Regions from separate parts of the Homo sapiens genome. Here all the other regions are linked to region 2. Evidence: promoter capture Hi-C in human tissues and cell types (Jung and others, 2019). All regions are on one chromosome and are shown on one strand. The core of a region is centred on a gene start or on the middle of the fragment in contact, and the rest is flanking DNA. Distances in the headings are between cores, read along the strand shown.

The links. The method cuts DNA at HindIII sites, captures the fragments that hold promoters and counts their contacts. A contact is called where the count stands out against the background at its distance.
Region 1: the fragment with the promoter of MRPL27 here is called in contact with the fragment with the promoter of SGCA in region 2 in 2 of the 25 tissues and cell types used here (IMR-90 fibroblasts and lymphoblastoid cells).
Region 3: a contact is called between the fragment with the promoter of LRRC59 here and the fragment with the promoter of SGCA in region 2, in 1 of the 25 tissues and cell types used here (mesenchymal stem cells).

The regions. Positions count from the first base shown.
Region 1 is chr17:50,370,612-50,374,762 of GRCh38, reverse strand. MRPL27 (mitochondrial ribosomal protein L27) reads left to right here and starts at 1,579. Exons shown (of 4, transcript NM_016504.3): 1 at 1,579-1,632. The coding sequence starts at 1,593. EME1 (essential meiotic structure-specific endonuclease 1) reads right to left here and starts at 1,534. Exons shown (of 9, transcript NM_152463.4): 1 at 1,486-1,534. RefSeq lists enhancers at 1,216-1,435, 1,576-2,045 and a silencer at 3,829-3,990. The HindIII fragment of the contact is 32,602 bases long and covers 1-4,151 here.
Region 2 is chr17:50,162,837-50,167,281 of GRCh38, reverse strand. It overlaps SGCA (sarcoglycan alpha), which reads right to left and starts at 1,277. Exons shown (of 10, transcript NM_000023.4): 1 at 1,205-1,277. The coding sequence starts at 1,241. It overlaps LOC105371818 (a long non-coding RNA gene), which reads left to right and starts at 925. Exons shown (of 4, transcript XR_934833.3): 1 at 925-1,264; 2 at 1,803-2,071. RefSeq lists an enhancer at 3,183-3,683. The HindIII fragment of the contact is 20,868 bases long and covers 1-4,445 here.
Region 3 is chr17:50,394,614-50,398,816 of GRCh38, reverse strand. LRRC59 (leucine rich repeat containing 59) reads left to right here and starts at 1,294. Exons shown (of 7, transcript NM_018509.4): 1 at 1,294-1,604; 2 at 3,829-3,888. The coding sequence starts at 1,500. LRRC59-AS1 (LRRC59 antisense RNA 1) reads right to left here and starts at 3,893. Exons shown (of 2, transcript NR_199069.1): 1 at 3,825-3,893; 2 at 260-1,601. RefSeq lists a silencer at 1,248-1,317. The HindIII fragment of the contact is 9,986 bases long and covers 1-2,754 here.

The DNA.
Region 1 (4,151 bases), core at 330-2,829, 210 kb before region 2:
GTGATTCTCCTGCCTCAGCCTAGCTGGGATTACAGGCGCCCCACCACCACACCTGGCTAATTTTTGTATTTTTAGTAGAGATGCGTTTTCATCATGTTCGCCAGGCTAGTCTTGAACTCCTGACCTCAAGTGATCCGCCCGCCTTGGCCTCCCAAAGTGCTGAGATTACAGGTGTGAACCACTGCACCTGGCCAAAAACTGTTCTTTTTAAAAATTGAGATATAGGCTGGGCATGGTAGCTCATGCGTATAATCCCAGCACTTTGGGAGGCCAAAGCAGAAGGATCACTTGAGCCCAGGAGTTCGAGAACAGCCTGGGCAACATAGTGAGAACTCGTCTCTACAAAAAAATACAAAAATTAGCTGGGTATGGTGGCTCACACCTGTAGTCCCAGATACTCAGGAGGCTGAGGTGGGAGGATTGCTTGAGCCTGGGAGGTCAAGGCTGCAGTGAGCTGTGATTGTACGACTGCACTCCAGCCCGGGTGACAGAGTGAGACCCTGCTTCAAAAGAAAAATAAAATAAAAATAAAAATAGAGATATAATTTGCACAGCATAATATCCTTTTAAAAGTGTACATTCAGTAGATTTTAGTATATTCACAATGTTGTGCAACCATCATCACTATTTTATCACCTCAAAAAGAATTCCTGCAGCCATTAAGCCGTCACTGTCCTTTCCCTCCCTCCCCAGCTCCTGGCAACCATAAATCTGTCTCTATGCATTTGCCTATTCTGGATATTTCATATAAATAGAATCATACACTATGTGGCCTTTTGTGATTGACTTTTTTCACTCAGCTTGTTTTCAAGGTTTATCTATGATGTAGCCTGTATCAGTAGTTAATTGCTTTTCATGACTGAATAATATTCCACTGTATGGATATGCTACATTTTGTTTATCCATTCATCACTTGGACATTTAATTTGTTTCCTTTTTTTGCCTGTTATGAATAATGCTGCTATGAACACTGACATACAAGTTTTTGTGGGGGTATGTTTTCAAATCCCTTTCGTGTATATACCTAGGAGTAGAATTGCTGGGTCATATGCAAAGCTAATCATTTCTTGAACATTTACTAACACTGTAGGTATGACCCAGAAGGAGACATGTAACCTGCCTAGGCCTCAGTTTCTTCCTTAGTAAAACAGGGATGGTAACAGCACCCATTTTATAAGGTAGTGAGAATTAAATAAAATAATGCATCCACCGCGCTTAGTACAGCATCTGGCACACAGCTGGCTAAGTAGAGTAAGTTGAATGACTAGGGAGGGGGCCTCATCTCTGACCCTTCGCTGGGCCTCCGTTGACATCTGCAAATCAGGGGAGTGGGACAAGCGGGCCCCTGCCCGACAAGCTCTGCGCCTCTCAGGCTGGCGGTCCGCTGCAGAGGCTCCTGGACACCTTAGCCACCAAGATTCTGCAGAGCGGTGTTCAGGAGGGAAGCCCTGCCCAATCCGCAGGCCTGCGACCGGGGACGCTCACCTGCAACTTCTCCCGCCACTCTTTCAACTGCCACGCAGGGCCCGGAAGTAGATCTCCTGATAGCGGAAGTAGAAACTTTTCGAGACCGGAAGTGAGTGATCGAAAGCATGGCGTCGGTGGTGTTGGCGCTGAGGACCCGGACAGCCGGTAATGGGACGCAGTAGTCAGAGCGGGGTGAGGCGGGGAGGCAGAGTGGAGCTCCAGCAGGGAGGGAAGGAGGTGACACTGATCCCCGCGGAGGACCTTGGATGCGAGGGGAAGTGTGTGGGGTACTCCAGGTTTGAGGGACGGTGTCGCTGGTCACGTGACACATCCTGGGTGGAGCCGTGAGTGAGGGCGTTTGAAGAGCACTTGTCTTTCTCCTGCCTCAGCAGCACGGACGGGTTCCTTGGCGGTTGGGGATTTGGGTGGGTCCTTTCTCTGTAGAAGTATTAGTAACATTGGCATATTGGGGTTGAAAAAATTAATCTATTGATTCAGCAGATTGAGGTCTTACTTTGTGCTAGACACGGCGGTAGGTGTTCGGAAAATCAGCAGAAAACGTGAAGACTTGGCTTCTAGCCCCCGAACGGTTCTCTCTGGTGCATAAGGCAATAAATGAACATATAAAGTAGATGTAGACTGGCAAGTGCTGTGAAGAAGGATAATGTGTGTCTGTGTGTGTGTCTTTTTTTAGATTGGACGGTGAAGGAAGGCTTCTGAGGAGATAACATTTAAAACCTAAAGAATGACAGGCGGGGCGTGATGGCTCACGCCTGTAGTCCCAACACTTTGGGAGGCCTAGGTGGGCGGATCGCTTGAGCCCAGGAGTTCAAGACCGACTGGGCAACATGGCAAAACCCCATCTCTACAAAAAATACAAAAATTAGCTGGGTGTAGTGGCGCTTGCCTGTGGTCTCAGATACTCAGGAGGCTGAGGTGGGAGGATCACCTGAGCTCGGGAGGTCGAGGTTGCAGTGAGCTATGTTCATACCACTGCACTCCAGCCTGGGTGACAGAATGGGGCCCTATCCCCCCCCCCCAAAAAAAAAAGAATGACAGGAGACCTAGACCTGTGTAGAGTGAGGGACAGGAGAGTGACTTGAGCCAGTTTTACATTTTGAGAAGCAAACTATTGCTCTTATGTAAATTTAAAGGGGATAGGAGTGGAAATGAGGAAATCAAATGGAAAGTCGTAATAGCCCTGAGGAGAGATGATTTAGCCAAGATGTTTGTGGTGGCAGTGAACTTGGAGGAAAACGGATGAATTTGAGATCTGTTTTGGAGTTAGCATCCACAGAGCTTGCTGGTGAACAATATGTGAGGACAGCAAAGAGAAGGAATCTGCAATGACTCTGGTTTCTGCCTAAGCAACTGGATGAATGGTGGTACCATTTACTTTGAGGAGGAGGATGGGGAGTAGGGTGAAGAGCAAAGATTTGTGAGTGAGATAATGTAAGTAAAGTAAAAGCCCAGCTCCTGAGCTTAGTAAGTATGTAAATGAATGAATAGATGTTTAAAGGTAGGTAGATCCTGGCGCCGGGCATGTTTTAACATGTTGTCTTTCTGAGTCCTTATCTCTGGTCCTTTGCCCCAGCTAGTCTCTGGTGTCATGGAAATGTCAGAAACCCAGGCTTCAGGAACTCTGAACTTATAGGCTCCAGAGACCCACAAGGCTTCTCTAAAGACACTGGCATGGACCTTAAATCATGGCTGTGTCTGGAGACCTGCAGGCAAGGAGTTGCACCCCTAGGCTTGTCATACAGCAAGGGACTACCATCTTAGTATGAATTTTAGTTCATTTTACTTCTGCAAATGAATGCTATTGAGCACTTTGGAATGAGTATGGAGAGGTCAGATTAACAAGGGCAGTGTGTGGGTCATGGTTGGACCTCTGCTTGATGTGCTTTGAGAAGAAAGGGCCCAGCCTTCTGAAATGGCCAGGACCCTGTGGGAGCCACTTTTAGGCCAGCCATCCTTTTGGTTTACTAGTATTTGGTGAGCAGTGGATGAGTGGACAGCTGAGAAAGTCATGGGTGAGGCCTGTAATCCCAACACTTTGGGATCACCTGAGGTCAGGAGTTCGAGACCAGCCTGGCTAACATGGTGAAACCCCGTTTCTACTAAAAATACGAAAAATTAGCTGGGCGTGGTGGCGTACACCTGTAATCCCAGCTACTTGGGAGGCTGAGGCAGGAGAATCGCTTGAATCCGGGACGCGGAGGTTGCAGGGAGCCAGGACTATGCCATTGCACTCCAGCTTGGGCAACAAGAGTGAAGCTCCGTCTTTAAAAAAAAAAAAGAAAGAAAGTCGTGGGTGAGCCTGAAACCGAAGCCTTTCTGGATGTACTGGGCTCCCCAAGTCTGTTCTGGCCCCTCCGTGGTGCATGAGGGTGAGTGAGCCTCTGAAGCAGGCAGCTCTCTGGTGTCCATTTCTCCTCAGCACATTTAGACTGAATGTGTCAGAACCCAGAACACATGATGTTTATTTTTTTCCATTTGTGTTTCACTGCTCCCCCGCCCCCTCCCCCAAAAGGAGAAAGCCAAGGACTTAGAGGTATTCCCTGAGAACTAATACACTCAGTGGCACTTCTGCTCCCCTGACACAGCTTTCTCATCTCCCCACCGCCTCTCACGTATCAGCATGTGGCCCATTGAGGCAGAAATAGTTTGAGCCTGTCTGTCTG
Region 2 (4,445 bases), core at 28-2,527:
GCCCCTAAGGGACCGAGAGAAGCGCTTCCTTTGCTGCCTCCCAGGAAGGGATTGGGGTGGGGATGGGGGAGCAAGCCCTGCTGGGCTAGACATTTTAATCGTCTGGGTTTCGGGATTCGAGGGAGAACCTCTCCCACAACCTTTCCATTCCTTGTTTTAGGCCCCTATTAATGGTGCAGTGGGCAGGGACTGATGTTTGACTGGGAAGTGTGTGTGTGAGGGTGTGTGTGTGTGTGAGGGGATGTGGGGGGGTGTGTGTGTGAAGGTATGTGTGAGGGTCTGTGAGGATGTGTGTGAGGGTGTGTGTGCAAGTGAGTGTGTGTGAGAGGGTGTGTGTGAGGGTGTGTGTGTGTGAAGGTGTGTGTGGGGGGTGTGTGTTTGCGGGGGGTGTGTGGGGGTATGTGGGGGTATGTGGGGGTGTGTGTGGGGGGTGTGTGTGACGGTGTGTGGGGTGTGTGTGTGACGGTGTGTGTGAGGGTGTGTGTGTGAGGGTGTGTGAGGGTGTGTGAGGGTGTGTGTGTGAGGGTGTGTGAGGGTGTGTGAGGGTGTGTGTGAGGGTGTGTGTGTGAGGGTGCCGTGAGGGTGTGTGTGAGGGTGTGTGTGGGTGTGTGTGTGTGTGAGGGTGTGTATGTGTGAAAGGCACTGGGAAAAGAATCCCATGCTAAATGCCCAAGAGCCCAGAGGAGAGGAAGACGGGGCCAGGAGCCTACAGAGGAGGAAGGGTAGCCATTCTGGGCCTGGAGACCCCCACCTTCCTCCCCTAAAATACAGGGAAGAAGAAGGCCTGCCCTAGAGGCCAGTAGGAGCTGAGCAAAAGGAATCCTAAGTCCAAGAGAGGAGCAGAGGACCTGGCCGCCAGCTCCACCCTCCCTCCCAGGGCCAAATTTAGCCTGGGCTTAGAAGCTGCGGCCCAGCCAGCTCATTAAAGGGCCCACGACCCTTTGGGCCTGTGCTGTCAGACCCACCCGGGCCCTAGGACACCTCCAGCCCTCAGAGCTCCCAGCCCCTTCATCCCAGAGCCCAGCTCCCAGCCCCATTCCCTGGATCCCCAGCTGGCCATGGCATTAACACCCCAAAGCCCTTCTGGCGCCTGCCTCACCCAACCCAGATCCCTCTTCTGTGGGCCCTCCACACCTCCGTCTTACCACCCCTAAATCCTGCCCCCTCATCCTGGGCCTCCCCGCTGAACAAGGCCCCAACTTGCCCACGAGGAGAGGAGTCCAGAAGAGTGTCTCAGCCATGGCTGCCCGGCCTGGCCCGCCCGGTGAGTGACAGAGACAGGGGGCAGGGAGGAGAGGAGGGAAGGAGGGAGGTGGCTCGGGGCAGCTGGGTCCCAGCGTCAGCCTCCCCTCCCCGCCTGGAGCATGCACCAAATCTGGGATAGACACCCTCCTCGCACTCATTGTCCCTCCAACCGTCCCCTCCAGTGGCCACAGTGTTTTTTAAACCACCAACCAGGCCACCTCCATCCTCCCTTAAAACTCTAATGGTTCTCATGGCCCCTGAGTTCCCAGCTCATCCCCAGTTGGTGGCTTTCTGGCCTGTCCTGAACCTGGTCAGCTGGTCTAGAATCCCATCCTCTGCCCCTACCCTTCCAACCCCAGGCCCCTGCTCAGCCTCACTCCGCTCCTGCCTAGCTTGGCAGACTCTCTCAAGTCTCCAAGCCGTCGTCCAGGCTATTGCCTCTGCCTGCAGTTCCCTTCCCACCTTCATTCAAGCAGCAACCTTCCAGTCACCTTTCCAGACTCTGCACAGATGTCCTCTCCTCTCTGAAGCCTTTCTGACCTCCCTTCTTCTGCTAGGCCAAGCTGGGTGTCCCCTTAGCCCCTGCGTGCTTTCCTGGGCACAACACAATCACACAGACTGCTCCAAGCTCCTCGAAGACTAGGATCTTGTCACGTTTGTATCCTTGGGCCTGGCACAGGGCCTGGTAACTAGTAGGTGTAGCTGGCTGGCGGCAGCTTCCTTAACAGCAAACGTAGGTGCCATCCACCCAGCCTTTATCCCCAGTCCAAGCACTTCAGCGTGGAGGTCTAGCAAGCCCTGGACAGGACCAGCCAGCTAGAGACAGGTGAGCGGAGGAGGCACCCTCTCTGGCCCATGGAGTCAGGGTTCATTCGGCGCATAGACTTGGAGGCCTGGAGGTGGGCCACCTTGGCCACTTGCTGGGGATGAGGCCTTGAGTGCACCATTTGCCCTCTAGCCCATTTCCACAACTATAAACTGGCAAGAATAGTGCTTGCCTCTTGGCATCATTGTGAGGACTCCACAAAGTAATGAATGCAGCGCATATTTATGAAACACCTGCTATGTATCAGACATTGAAATTGCAAAGATAAGCAAACCTCTGCCCACATGGAGGTCACCTGCCAGTGGGTAATACCAGCTAGCGCTGCCAGCTACTGTGCTGAGAATCTTACATATATCTACCTATATTACCTCATTCCATCTCCTCAGCAGTTCCATGAGGCAGGTATTATTACTGTGCCCATTTAACAGATGATAAAACTGAGGCACAGGGGTGTATACCTTCCCCAAGGCCACATTGCTGATGAGTAGAATGCATGTGGACGGCTTAGCCCAGTGCCTGGCTCAGTCGATGACTGTGCTGCTGATGTACTTGCCCGGCCCTGCTTCCCCTTCCTTCTTGCCTCTGCCAAAGGATCTCAGTCCAGGGGCGATGGGGCGCGGTGTCCTCTCCCCAGGTCTCTCACTTAGGGCAGGCACAGGGGCACTCTCCCCAGGTGCCCTGAGAAGGGGGCGGGGACCTATGGCTGCCAGGGTTCCCAAATCCTTGGTGCCTGTGTGACCTCTCCTCCAGGGCCTCAAAAGGACAACAAAATACCCCAGGCAAGGATCACTTGGGTCCAGCCTAAGGGCACAGGTGTTGGCCTGCAGATGGGGTGACTGGTAGGCAGGTTACGCAGTCCTTGTCCCTTCCTCTCTCTCTCTCCACCTGACTGACCCGCTCATCCCTGGAGAGCCACCAAATTCCAGAGTCAGCGTCCCCTCAGGCAAGGCAGTATTTGTCCCAGCATCACCTGGCCATCTCTCTGTCTTCTCAGAGACAGAGGGAGGGAGGAAGAAAGGTTCTGGAGGCAGAGGAAGAGCCCAAGGGTTCTGGGGGAGCAGGCAGAAGTGCCAACCCCCTGGGCACCTGCCCAGCCTCACCCCTGAGCTTCTCCATGTGACTCCCCGCCCCCTGCCGTCCCCCTGGCTATTTTTGGAGCCACCCACTCAGCTGTCTTAAGGTAGCAGTGCCTGGCCCCAGTGTCACCAGGCCCACAGAGGCCAGCCTTCCTTAATGAAAAGCTGCAGCTACTTCCCCATCAGATCCTCCCTGCCCAATTCAAGGGAGCCAGGGACTGTCCCACAAGCCAGAAAGTCCCCAGAAACCCTTCTCAGGCCCCTCAGCCATCAGAGGACCTTCCCACTCAGAGCTGTCTGGATTGCAACCTGCTGCTTGTAACACACAGCACCTTCTGTCTATTGGGCCTAGGGGTGGGAAGGGAGGTCACAGGGTCTTTAAACTTCTTAGTTTGAAAAATTTGCAGCATACTATAATAAGCCCCCGTGTATCTGTCACCTGGCTTCAACAATTATCAACTCATGGCCAGTCTAGTTTCATCTGTACCCCTCCTGATTAATTTCATCCATCAATATTTCAGTGTGTATCTTTAAATGATAATGACTCTTTTTAACATAATCACATAACACGTTCAGCTATTAACATCATCAATAAAATTCCTTAATATCAAACTTCTAGTGTTCAAATTACCAATTTCTCATAAACATACATATTTTTACAGTGTATTTGTTTGACTCAAGATACAAAGAAGATACACACATTGCAACTGATTGATGATTTATAGGGCTTTTTTTTTTTTTTTTTTTGAGACAGAGTCTCGCTCTGTCACCCGGGTTGGAGTGCAGTGCCATGATCTCGGCTCACTGCCACCTCCACCTCCCAGATTCAAGCAATTCTCCTGCCTCAGCCTACAGGCACGTGCCACCATGCCCAGGGGTTTCACCATGTTGGCCAGGCTGGTCTCAAACTCCTGACCTCAAGTGATCCACCCACCTTGGCCTCACAAAGTGCTGAGATTACGGGCGTGAGCCACTGTGCCTGGCCAAGGCTCTTTTAAATTTCTTCAAATCTATAGGTTCCCATACATCCTTTCTCTCTCTTTTTTCCTTCCTCCCTTCCTTCCTTCCTTCCTTCATACTTTCCTTCCTTTCCTCCCTCCTTCCTTCCTTCCCTCCCTCCCTCCTTCTTCTTCCTTCTCTCCCTCCCTCCCTCCTTCTTCTTCCTTCTCTCCCTCCCTCCCTCCTTTCTTCCTTCCTTCCCTCCCTCCCTCCCTCCTTTCTTCCTTCCTTCCCTCCCTCCCTCTCCTTCCTTCCTTCCTTCCTTCCTTCCCTCCCTCCCTTCTCTTTCTCGTTCCTTG
Region 3 (4,203 bases), core at 45-2,544, 230 kb before region 2:
CCTCTGAGATAAGCTTTAATATCCCTATTTCAAAATGAGTAAACTGAGGTTTGGAGTGGGTAAAGTGCTTCCTTCCTTCATTCATTCATTCATTCATCCATCCATCTATTCATTTATTCAACAGACATCTGAATGAGTAGCTACCCTGCATCAGGGTATGCCAACTCTGGGCATACGAAGATGATTAAGACAAAAATCCCTGTCCTCACAGTCCAGAATGAAGGACAGACACATAAAGATGAGTATAATACAAGGTGGATCATGAATTGTAGCTAATATTTATTGGGTACTTACTAAGTGCCAGTGACTGCTGTAAGCTCTTGGTGTGTTTTACTCCTTCAGTTCTCCCCAACCTCTGTTAGCTACATGTCTCATAGATTGATTCATAGATAAGACTGAAGCCTGGTGATTGTCTACGGTTTTATAAGTAGCAAGTGGCAGAGCCAGGATGAATACCCAGTGGATAGGTATTAGTGCCAGAGGTCCCACTTGGCCATCAAGCTCTACTGTCTCTGATGATAAAGTAGCAAACAGGGACCTAAGTTGGTTGGGGGGGGCGCTAACTCAGTCTGGCATTCACGGTGTTCAGGGGAGATTTCCTGAAGGACTAAGGAATTAGCTAGACAGAGGTGAGTGGGGGGGAGGGAGGGCCATCGCTGGGGAGGGCCAGACGTGGGAGCCACCTCCTGGAAATCTACACAGCATCTAGGCCAGGCAGGGACTGGAGCGTGTGAGGAAGCTGCGAAAGCAGGCAGGACCCAGCTTCCAAAGGAAAGTGGTCCGTATCCTAGAGGTAGCTGCAAGTTTGAAGGGTTTTACGTAGGGGAGAGACTTGGCCAGATTTTTAGAAAGATCACCGGGGAGCTGGGTGAAAGTGGATGGAAGGACAGAGACAAGCACTGAGGCAGTGAGTGGGGAGGAGAGAGGAGAAATTCAGGAAGAAGAGTTTTCCCCATGATGGTTATTCGGGGGTTAAGTAGAGGACAGGGAGCAGTTTTAGAGGACACCCAGCTTCTGCTCCTAATCAGGGGGATTGGGGTGATCTGATGAGGTCAGTATTGGATGTCAACCCAGTCTTCTGGCGCCCAGTCCGTGCCCTTTCGCCTCGTGGCACTGCCAGCAATAATGCCCGCGGGCCACGGGTGAACGTGAACCGAGCTCGCAGCCTCCAACCCCACCCCTCCGGCGGCGGCGACGTGCAGTGCATCACCCTGGGCACCAGGGGGCGTGCCCGCACACGCTCGGGCCGCTCTGGCCCAGCCCATCTCAGTGGTCGCGGAAGGTGACGTGGACACGGAAGTGGTCGTCGTCGCGGCACCGGTGGGAGCTAGGCGCGAGGCTCGGAGTGCGGCCAGCGGGCGGAGGCGGTCTCGCATCGGCGGCGACGGAGGGCTCAGGCGTCGTCGTTTGGGTGGGGGGCCGCTGAACTGACAAGCGACATTTCAGCTCCTTTCACCCGCCGGAACCCCGGAGCCGGGGCCCGCTCAGCCGGCGTTACCATGACCAAGGCCGGTAGCAAGGGCGGGAACCTCCGCGACAAGCTGGACGGCAACGAACTGGACCTGAGCCTCAGCGACCTGAATGAGGTCCCGGTGAAGGAGCTGGTCAGTATCGTCCCGCGAGGCCCAGGCGCCCACCTTCGCCGGGCGCTGGCCCCTACGTGGGCCACTTACTTTCCTCTTCTCTAAAAGCATCAGTTTCCTTTTCTTTAAAAAGAAGCGGGGTGGTGGGACTAAGTCCCCTAGGAGGCCGCGTCCAGCCCAAGGTTCTTCCCGGGATGTACACGTGTCACTTTGGCGCAGTTCCAGAACATAGGGAAGATCTGCTTCTCTGGCCCTAGGCTTTTTACAGGCTAAGAAGCGAATCTGTCACCTTTGCGGGGCTTTCACAGCGCCCACCTCCGTGCCCGACTCTGAGTAGGAGCACACGGAGCAGTTACTGGATGTATTCGAGAATGAATGAGTGACTTGTTCCAGGGGAGTAGGCCTCCTGGTAGACCTGGGTGTGGCCCAGAACCTGGCTCTTCTAGGAAGCTGGCAATTCCAGCTGGCTGCCCGAGCCCTGAGGCAGCCTAACTCGAAGAAAGTAAAGTCTCCCCCCAGCTTGGCTGGTAAACTGTCATCTGAATTCCGCTGAAACTGGCGGGAGTCCCTTTCGCCCCTCTCTCCCCCAACCTTTCCCCTGTAAACTGAAGCTTACAGCTCCAGAGAGATAGCAGGCATCTAGTTTTGTCAGCGTGGAGCTAGTTCCCACATCCCTCCTTTTCCCACTCCGTTCCCCCTCCCACCCGCGCCAACGCCCTACTAGACTCACTTTGGGTGACCCACACTTTGCTTTCTGCCGTTGATAAATTACATTTGCCTTGGGCGCTGGGCCCAGTCTTTCTTCCACCGTGGACGGGTATTACAGTGGTTAGAACCGGGTTCCTAGCTCCTCCCAGCTCCATTGCTTAATAGCCGAGTGCCCTTGGCAAGCTAGTTAGCCTTTATGCCTAGATCTCCTCATCTATACAATGGTGATAATAGTTTCCATCTCATACGCTTATTGGGAGGTTAAATACCATTGTAATGGAAAATGCTTGGAAGGAGCAAATACTGATACTTGTAGCTGTTGTTGTGTTTTTCCCGCTGTAGTATTTAAAACTTTTTTAGGTGGTCAAACTTCACTTTTACGACTTTGTGACAGAAAGTGCAGGTTGCCAGAGGATCCTTAACTGAATATATGCCTCCTTTTCTACCCCAGGAAGATAGATGGCCAGCCTTATTTCACCCTGCCCTAGGACTGCTCTCTGAAACCATATACTCCAGGCATCTGAACAGTCCAGCATTAACCTTAGGGAGAAAGTTTTGCTGAGCTTGTCCAGCCTGGACACCATGGGAAAATAGAGATGGGCTGTGAGGGCCTTTTTTTTTTTTGGATGATGGAGTTTTGCTGTTGTTGCCCAGGAGTGATCTCGGCTCACTGAAACCTCTGCCTCCCGGGTTCAAGCGATTCTCCTGCCTCAGCCTCCCGAGTAGCTGGGATTACAAGCGTGTGCCACCATGCCTGGCTAATTTTCTATTTTTAGTAGAGACAGGGTTTCTCCGTGTTGGTCAGGCTGGTCTCGAACTCCTGACTTCAGGTGATTGCCTGCCTCAGCCTCCCAAAGTGGTGGGATTACAGGCGTGAGCCACCGCACCCGGCAGGGCCTTGTTTTTTCACTCTGTCATTCACTCCGCTACTTACTCGATCAGTCATGATTCAGGCAACATGTATGGATATTGAGTACCTGTTCTGAGGAAGGGCCTGAACTGGGGAATATGGAAATTGCAAAGCTTTATTAGACACTGTCCCTGCCCTGAAACCTAATAAGAGGGACGCTGGGTAATATTTATTTTTAAAGTGCTAGGAATAATGTCTAAGAATCTAAATTTTGCTTGCCTGCCTGCCTGCCTGCCTTCCTTTCTTTTTTTTTTTTTTTGAGATGGGGTCTCACTGTGTTGTGCAGGCCGGCCTCAAACTCCTGAACTCCTGGGCTCAAGCGATCCTCCTGTCTCAGCTTTCTGAGTAGCTGAGACTATGAGACTACAGGTGTGAGTCCCTGTGCCTCGCCTAAGGTTTACCTTCTTGGAGGTTGTACAGCCACATCCCTTCTCTTTGCATTCTTCCTTAGATCATGGTTGACTGGCTTATTTTTCCTCTTATTCCCAGGAACATTACTCTTTACTGCCATTTTAAAAGGCCTTTCCTAATCATGGGAACATTCTCTGGAAAATGCTTCATTAACATATGTCAGTGAATTGTTCCAGATGTTGGTCTGACATGTTTTTCTCATCCTCTTTTACCTAGGCTGCCCTTCCAAAGGCCACCATCCTGGATCTGTCTTGTAATAAACTGACTACTCTACCGGTAAGATTGGCATGCAGCCGTGACTCCTTCTGGTGCCTTGGATGCATCTCCTTCCTGTTTCGGGGGTTGAGAGGGGGGTGGGAGGGTGTCATAAGGTGTAATTTCAGGATAGGCCTACAGGCAGGCTATAGCTAAATCTGAGTGTGTAGGGGAGGCACAGTGGAATGGAGTGGTTGGTCTCAGTGGGAAAGGAATTGAGATGGAGGCCTCATTCTTCAGAACAGTGGTAAAGTCAGTCCACAGAAAACTAAACTCAACAGGGTGCTGAGTAACTTACTGGGCTCATCTTTTTTCTACATTATTTTATTCCTCTGA